2 separate regions of the Homo sapiens genome follow, and region 2 is linked to region 1. The links are contacts of gene promoters, found by promoter capture Hi-C in blood cells and fetal thymus (Javierre and others, 2016). All regions are on one chromosome and are shown on one strand. The core of a region is centred on a gene start or on the middle of the fragment in contact, and the rest is flanking DNA. Distances in the headings are between cores, read along the strand shown. Region 1 holds the start of GABPA (GA binding protein transcription factor subunit alpha). Region 2 has its middle 130 kb from the start of ADAMTS1.

Evidence for each region. Contacts are between HindIII fragments. The CHiCAGO score rates a contact against its expected background, and 5 or more counts as called.
Region 2: a fragment that was not itself captured here is called in contact with the fragment with the promoter of GABPA in region 1 in 1 of 17 cell types (fetal thymus); the score reaches 8.5 in fetal thymus.

Annotation. Positions count from the first base shown.
Region 1 is chr21:25,731,989-25,736,246 of GRCh38, forward strand. It overlaps GABPA (GA binding protein transcription factor subunit alpha), which reads left to right and starts at 2,984. Exons shown (of 10, transcript NM_002040.4): 1 at 2,984-3,590. It overlaps ATP5PF (ATP synthase peripheral stalk subunit F6), which reads right to left and starts at 2,916. Exons shown (of 4, transcript NM_001003703.2): 1 at 2,865-2,916. RefSeq lists enhancers at 208-1,045, 2,338-2,417, 2,736-3,391, 2,818-2,927, 2,948-3,067 and silencers at 2,528-2,627, 3,568-3,707, 3,768-3,977. The HindIII fragment of the contact is 6,464 bases long and covers 1-4,258 here.
Region 2 is chr21:26,717,720-26,722,170 of GRCh38, forward strand. No RefSeq gene overlaps it. Among named protein-coding and RNA genes, the nearest start is that of ADAMTS1, 130 kb to the right of the region's middle. The HindIII fragment of the contact is 3,282 bases long and covers 394-3,675 here.

The sequences.
Region 1 (4,258 bases), core at 1,734-4,233:
CATTTTCACTGTATTCAAAAGTGTCCACAGGAGTGGGTGTGAGAATGGCCCTTTACCACTCAGAGTTTGAGCAGCACTAGCTAGAAAACTGTAGAGTCGCACAATAGTTCTCAAAATAGGGTTGGGGGTGGGGGAAGAAGTGAGTTTTTTTCTCTCCAAGGAGACATCTGGCAATGTCTTTAGACATTTTTGGTTGTTCTCACCAAGCTGAGTGCTACTGGCTTATAATGAGTACAAAGCCAGGAATGCTGCCAAACACTATAACGACAATAACAGCCCTCCCACCCCTAAGAATTATCTGGTCAAAATGTCAATAATGCCAAGGTTGACAAACTCTGGAATGGCATGTAAAAATTATCAAAAGAAATCTACAATGAGCCAGGTGCAGCGGATCATGCCTGTAATCCCAGCACTTTGGAAGAACAAGGCAGGAGGATCACTTAAGCCCAGGAATTCAAGACCAGCCTGGGCAACACAGTATGACCCCATCTCTACAGAAAAAAAAAAAATAGCCAAGTGCGGTGGTGGGTGCCTGTAGTCCCAGGTACTTGGGAGGCTGAGGCTGGAGGATCACTTGAGCTTGGGAGGTAGAAGCTGCAGTGAGCTGTGATTGCACCACTGCATTCCAGCCTGTGTTACAGAGTGAAACCCTGTCTCAAAAAAAAAAAAAAAGAAAGAAAGAAATCCTACAATCAGGCCGGGCGTGATGGCTCACGCCTGTAATCCCAGCACTTTGTTGTAATCCCAGCACTTTGGGAGGCCAAGGTGGGTGGATCACCTGAGGTAGGGATTCAAGATCAGCCTGACCAACATGGAGAAACCCCGTCTCTACCAAAAATACAAAATTAGCCGGGAGTGGTGGCACATGCCTGTAATCCCAGCTACTCAGGAGGCTGAGGCAGGAGATTCCTTGAACCCAGGAGGCGGAGGTTGCGGTGAGCCGAGATCGCGCCACTGCACTCCTCCACCCTGGGCAACAAGAGTGAAACTCTGTCTCAAAAAAAAAAAAAAAAAAAAAAAAAAAGAAATCCTACTATCAATGCAATCAACAAAATATGCTTCACCTGACAGAATGAAAGCAAACTGTTTGAAGAAATTAAAGAATTCATAACATATCACTTTTATACCCCATCAGGGAAAAATACTTGAGAAAAGGCTACAAGCAAACAACAAATGACCTCACAAGGTCATGTGCCACTTATTATCATTCCTATGTTTAAACACACAGAAACTGAGGATTAGAAGTATCTGGTCAAAGTGGTCGGGCGCGGTGGCTCACGCTTGTAATCCCAGCACTTTGGGAGGCCGAGGCGGGCAGATCACGAGGTCAGGAGATCGAGACCATCCTGGCTAACACGGTGAAACCCGGTCTCTACTGAAAAATACAAAAAATTAGCCAGGCGTGGTGGCGGGCACCTGTAGTCCCAGCTACTCCGGAGGCTGAGGCAGAAGGGCGTAAACCTGGAAAGTGGAGCTTGGAGTGAGCAGAGATCGTGCCACTGCAATCCAGCCTGGGCGACAGAGCGAGACTCTGTCTCAAAAAAAAAGTATCTGGTCAAAGTTACACAGCAAAATCTAACTTAACACATATATGCAAAAAAAAAAATTGTGCAATTCAATGCCACTTTCCCTTCTGGCAAACTAAGGACATGCTTAACATTCAGCAATAGGTTCACCCGACATTTGCTTAGCCCTAGATACTGTGCAAAGTACTTCCATATATATCCTTTCCTTGTACCCTTACAGCAATACTCTCAAAGAGTTAAAGTGTTCTTATCCCTGCTTTACAGATGATAAAACTGTATCTAAGAAAGATTAAGCTGCACGTATTCTCACAGTTAATTTGCTCTAAGTCTGACTGCATAGATGTTACTCCTTCTGCAACACGGGTAAAATCCACTTTCATTGTTTCAATTATCCACCATGTAAGTGCCTATGATTCCCCAATCGCATTTCTAATTTTAGTATTCATCCTGAGCCCCAAATCTATCCACAGCATTCAACAGTTCTCATCTCCCTTATAAGTCCTACGAACTCATCCAAAAAACGAACACATAATCCCATATCAAAACTTGTTCCTTCTCCTTTAATCCCTTTCATTTTTTTTCACTGATTAGTGAATGCATATTGTCCACTAAAACGCAGAAGATAGTCATTACACAAATAGCTGTGAAATACCACCTGACATAAATTCTCTATTCCAGTACCATCGGGTGCCACGAGAGCATATGATAGCGTCTGACATGATCAGAAAGACTGGGGAAGGCAACAGTAAGAAAACACTAGTCTGAGCAGAGGCCTTGTTCTGGGTGGGAGCATGGTTCTATTTATAGTGATGACTGACCGGCCAAAGGTTAGTAGGTTCGCTGCCTCTTCAGTGCATATTCCTATGAACAATCCATAAAGTCGCCTAATGAAGTGTTAGCACCATCGTTTTTAGGTGGGATGCAAACTTTCAATATTATGACTAATTTTTTCCCTCTTAATGGTACACGTTCTGCCTAAGTAGCCTAGACGCTCCCGTGCGCCCGGGGCGGGTAGGCCTGGCCGAAAATCTCTCCCGCGCGCCTGACCTTGGGTTGCCCCAGCCAGGCTGCGGGCCCGAGACCCCCGGGCCTCCCTGCCCCCCGCGCCGCCCCGATTTGCCCTCAGAGAGGGTATCGATCTTATTTCTGGGTCTACGGCAAACTCCAAGGTCTACAAACGTAGAGGTCAGCTGTGACCCCGGGCCAGGCCGTGAAGGTCCCCAGGACACAGAGCTGCTCTCTCCTCCTAGTAAAGGTGAGAGGCAGCCCAGGCCTCGTGAAAAAACCCAGAACTGGAGTCCCAAAAGGCCACGCTGATCTAGCTACCCTCCCAGTCACCTTGCACTCAGTCCCGAGCTGCCAAAGCCTCCGCCGCCACCACCTCCGCTCTACTTCCGGCCCTGGCTCCGCCCCCACACGCCTACCCGCCATCGCAATGCATTATGGGCCGCCGTTTCAGTCGGTCGACGCTCACCGGACAGGAAGCGTCTCGGAGACAGTCTGCGACCGGACGGGTCTAGGTGAGACAGAAGCCAAACAGGAGGAGGAAGTGGAGGGTAAGTGCTTCCGGGTCCCCTGGCACAGCCTCCGCCATCTTTTCTTCGCCTAATTTGACCCGTTCTTTTTCCCCTCCTTGAAACCTTGCTCTGTACGCATGCGCTCTTTGAGTGGCCTTTCCCCTAGTTCAAGCTCCCCTCCGAGTCAGCGTCCTGTTCGTTAGGGTTATCGAAGTGTATAAAGGTGCAGGGAAAGTGAGACTGTGTAAAACAAAGCGGATTGGGGCGTTGTGCTTCCTTGTACCTCGTGAGCCTCCGTTGCCTTGGGCGGTCGTTTTGCGCACCCTGCCGGGAGTTGTAGTCCTGGACCCGAAGGTGCCTGGGAGGCGGGAGGGGGGTTGGGGCTTCTCAGCGCCGATTCCGCGGGAAGGGCCCTGGGACCTCACACTTCTAGTCGCGGGAGCTGCAGGTCTTACCCGGAGAGACGCTGCACGTGGAGCCCTCGCCGCTGCCGTTCTCAGCCGGCTCTGGAGTGCGGGCGGGGGCGACAGGGCCGATTCCGGAGTGGGTGAGTGCGGCCGCCGGGGAGGAGGGGAGCGCGGGCCCTCGCGGGCCGGCCTCGTTCCGGGGCCTTTTCCCCCACAAGGGCCCCCCCGCGGCCGCCTCTGTGTTTTGTTTCCGCTGGTCCCCGGCGCTGTGACTCCCATTTCCGTTCGTGGAGACTTGAGGGAGCCGGGTGGGGAGGGGCGGGAGAGCTGTGCGGGGAGCGAAGGGGAGGGGCGGGGGGCGAGCGGCCTGGAGCCCGGGGGGACCGGGCACCGCCGGGACCCGTGCCGGACGGGTCGCCTGTCGCCGCTCCCTCCTTTCCGCGTCCCCTCCTCGCCCGTCCGCACTCCTCAGCAGTCTCAGCCTGCTCAGCTGGGATGTGGTCCTGACGCCCCCGAGATTTTAAGAGCAAAATGCAGACCCTGTCTCATCGCGGGACTCAGCGATTCACTCATTTCAAATCCGCTCTCTTTATAGAACAACACACACCAGAATCATTTATCAGCGTATATGGTAGCCATCTGGGTTTGTTTTTTTGTTTTTAAGCAAGGAAGTAAACCAAGGAGATAACAATGGGTTGTCTACTTGGAAATTTTTTTGTGTACTAGAAGACACGCTGTATGTGCGTGTTTGGATTTAGGGACCCCAGTTTGATCAGGTTAGCGGACCGAGAGGACAATGCCTAATATT
Region 2 (4,451 bases), core at 785-3,284, 980 kb after region 1:
ATGGACAGGTGCCTGTGTGCGCGCCTGTGTGTGTGTGTGTGTGTGTGTGTGTGTGTGTGTATGTGTGTGTGTGTGTGTGTAGGTGGGGTAAGGGGATAGGAAATTACAGCTCTGAGGGTGAAACTAATTTAGTTCTATTTTCAGAAGCCTCAAATCTCCACTCCCACTTCTCTTGCAGTATGCAGGAAGGAGGCTGGATCCCATCAATACCTAAGGAAAGCTCACTATCACTTGCTTTGGAAAATGGAAAATTCCATTCTCATCAGCTTTCTGCAGAACCTGGAGCCATCTCAGCCAACCAGAGTTCTTTCATCGAGATGGGCCCTACAGATGCTTTCTCCTTTCTTTTCATCCTAAAGAAATGCTACCCTCATATCTGTTTTTACTTCCATAAGCTTATTTTTCTTTTTGTCACAGAACTTCGTAGGTACATTTTAGGGCACATTAAATTTTAGCTAATACTTATTGCTTCCGAAATAATATCTGTTCTGGTTTTCAATTGGCCATTCTTGCATTGCTATAAAAAATACCTGAGACTGGGTAATTTATAAAAGAGGTTTAATTGGCTCATGGTTTTGTAGGCAGTACAGGAAGTATGGTGCTGGCATCTGCTTGGCTTCTGTGGAGGCCTCAGGAAACTTACAGTCGTGGCAGAAGGCAAAGCAGGAGCAGGCACATGGCCAGAACAGGAGAGAGAGAGAGTCGGGGGTGAGGTGCCACATACCTTTAAACAACTAGATTTCACAAGAACTCACTCAGTATCTCGACAAGAGCACCAAGAGGCTGGTGCTAAGCCATTCATGAGAAATCCACATCCATGATCCAAACACCTCCCACGAGGCCCCACCTGCAACACTGGGGATTACAATTCAACATGAGATTTGAGAGGGAACAAATATCCAAATTATATCACCATTGCATTTTATTGTTTTCTACCTTCAGTAAAATAGCTTCTGACAGCAAAATGAGTCACACTAGACCTCCTGAATTTAAGGAGAAAGGTGTGTGGTCTATTAACATTTGTGTATTTTGTTGTCCTTTCCTTGAAAGTAGAAGATTCAGAAGGAAGTCCCAGGCCTCCTAGTCCCTTCCCCCTGTCTTTGCAAAGAGGATGAAGACGGTAATGCCCCATCTCAGGGAACATGTTCCTAACAGCCAGTTTAAAACCTTTAACACAGAAAGAGAAAGAAATAGTTTTGCTGAATTCATTTACTAGTAATATTTTAAAAGCAGTGTTTAGGCCGGGCATGGTGGCTCATGCCTGTAATCCCAGCACTTTGGGAGGCTGAGGTGGGCAGATCACAAGGTCAGGAGTTCGAGACCAGCCTGACCAACATGGTGAAACCCCGTCTCTACTAAAAATACAAAAAAAAAAAAAAAGAAAAAAAGAAAAAATTAGCCAGGTGTGGTGGCACGCGCCTGTAATCCCAGCTACTCAGGAGGCTGAGGCAGGAGAATCGCTTGAACCCAGGAGGCATAGGTTGCAGTGAGCCGAGATCGCGCTGCTGTACTCCAGCCTGGGCGACAGGGAGAGACTCTGTTTCAAAAAAAAAAAAAAAAAAAAGGTAGTGTTTAAGGTATGTCACATATGTAGAACATCAGAATGAGAAAATGATGACAGTGGGCAGGCTGGCGGGCGACTGCAGATGAAATGTGGTGATTATGAAAAGTGTAGCATCTCTAGAGCCTTAGGCACATGCCTGGTTATGTGTTAAGAGCTATTCAAGAATAAGCTGTTCTAATAATCACAACTCTATAAGATGGGGCTACTAGTGTCCCCATAAAATATAAGGAAACTGAGACATGGGGTCATTGTCACACCTCCCTAATGTCATATGGCTGGAAAGTGGCAAAGTCAGAATTTGAACCCAGGGTCCTTCTGCCTCCAGCATTCATGTTCTTCATCTCAACACTCTCCCAGATTTTGTGGCAACAGTTGAAAATCAATATTGCCCTAAACCACTGTAATTTCAACAAAGATCTATGAACACCTATCATGTGTCAGGCCCGTGATGAACTCTGAGGGCACTGAGATGGATGACCTGGTCCCAGCTGTCCAGCCTCTGGTGAGTCTTTTTCAGCCTGTGAACACAGCTGTGGGAAACCTCCAATACCACACACAGCTTTTGCCCACCGGGCAGGCCCAACAAATGGCGTCTAGACACCACATACCATAGAGCCGCTGCCTTGCCAGCCATGAGGTCACACAACGCACTAGTCCACAGCACGCAAGCTGCCTTGGCGGCGTCTCAGGCCTGCTAATTGGGACAGGTGCAGAGTGATGACAGCGGGCCACCCACAGAGCTCTGGCACACTGGCAAAGACATGAGGAGCGGGAGGACAGGAAGAAGAGAAAGCCTGAACTGCAGCCTGGGCAGTGGTGGCTGGCAGATAAAAACATCCTTTATGCACCAAGAACTTGGCTATTTTTGGAATGGGCATTCCCTAATCTCTAAAGCAAATGGTAAAGCCTCAGGAAATGAGAGCCTATGAAAATATATGCCTACATGCAACCACCAGCCTTCCAAACTGGAAAGATAATTTGCACATATACACACATACACGCACGCACAGACACACATACATACATGCACAAACACTCCGATAATTCTAGTAGAAGCTGTGGATCTTTGTAGGATGTAAAGGGAAATGCTACTTCAGGGACAACCATTTTAACAGGTTCATTTCAAATGGGTAGGTAAGAATTAGAAGTAAAAATAAAAGAAAGACCATCTCAGTTACAGGTTAACAGTTGGTTAGGAGACATCATGAAAATGCTAAAGGAAAAGGAGCAGATTTAGAAGAAGCATGTAAAGAAATAAAGTTGACCTTTCTAGATTCTGAAGTTATCGGCAGAATTGATCTAATGTAAGTATTGGCAGGAATATTGTAGGAAGACACCAAGAGGAATGAGATAAGGTCACTTGATTGCAGGAATTTATAGTATAACAGGGCAAATCATTAAGAAATGTCTAAAGTTTTGGTGGAAAGACGCTCATTTTTATGTGAACTAATGGATGCTAATTTTCTTTCAAATGTATAACTGATATTGAATTTAAATGCTCAGCTACATGTAACATGCATTTCTGTTACAGTCTGTTAGGATCTCAGTGGGACTTTAAGAAATAATAAGACATAGAAACATGACTCGTAATGAGAAGCTAAACACAAAGATAGCGTATATGATTTATATTATGCAACTTTTTTTTAAAGTTAGGAGGCAATCACAATTGCTTACTTAATCTAGGTACTTGCAATTAAGCCATGAGCTGAGTATCAGATACCTATTCATTTTCTCCACATCAAAAGTTATCTGTAGGCCAGGCATGGTGTTTCACGCCTGTAATTCCAGCACTTTGGGAGGCTGAGGTGGGTGGATCACCTGAGGTCAGGAGTTCGAGACCAGCCTGACCAACATGGTGAAACCCTGTCTCTACTAAAAGTACAAAAATTAGCCAGGCATGGTGGTGTGTGGCTGTAATCCCAGCTACTCGGCAGGCTGAGGCAGGAGAATTGCTTAAATCTGGGAGGCAGAGGTTGCAGTGAGCCAAGATCACGGCACTGCACTCCAGCCTGGGCAACAGAGCCAGACTCCATCTCAAAAAAAAAAAGAAAAGTCATCTGTAAATCAGATATTCTTAGAACATTTTAATAAGTCACCTCCTTTATTTCAAAAGCTTATGCTTTGCAACGTATTTATCAAAAAATACCTGACAACTGCACTTCCGTTTGGATGTTGCAAGAATAAAATTAAGATAATATTCATGAAGTCTTCTGAGGCCCTTATTATAGATATTTTAGATAAATGTTTCATTGTTATTAGAAGCTAAAGCAATCTATTAAGTGCCCATGGCATTTATTTTTTAATCGTGAAAACTTGGAAGTTATTTGGTTTCTGTTGTAATTTTAATAGTTACATTTGTAACACAAAAGATAAAGAAAATTTATTTGTTAATGTTTGCTTGTGTGTGTGTGTGTGTGTGTGTGTGTGTGTGTGTGTGTGTGTGTAGGATGACTTATGCCCCGCAAAGATATTCAGCTCTTAGACCCTGTATCCCTGTGTAAGTTACCTTATGGCAATAGGGATTTTGCAGATGTGATTAAGTTACAGATCTTGAGATGCGAATATTATTTTGAATTATTCCAGTGGGCCCAGTGTAATCACCACAGGGGTCTTCATAAGAGGGAGAATTAGAGTCTGCAGCAGACAGCACCATGGAAGCAAGAGGTTGCAGTAATGTTAAGAAGGGGTCATGAGCCAAGGAATGCAGGCAGCCGCTGGAAACTGAACAAGAGAGAGGAATATCTTCTCCCCTGGAATCTGTAAGAGGAACCAGCCCTGATTGCACCTTGACCTTCATCCAGGGAGACTGACTGTGAACTTCCGACATCCAGAAATATAAGAAAATAAATTTGTGCTGTCTTAAGCCACTAAGTTGGTGGCAATTTGT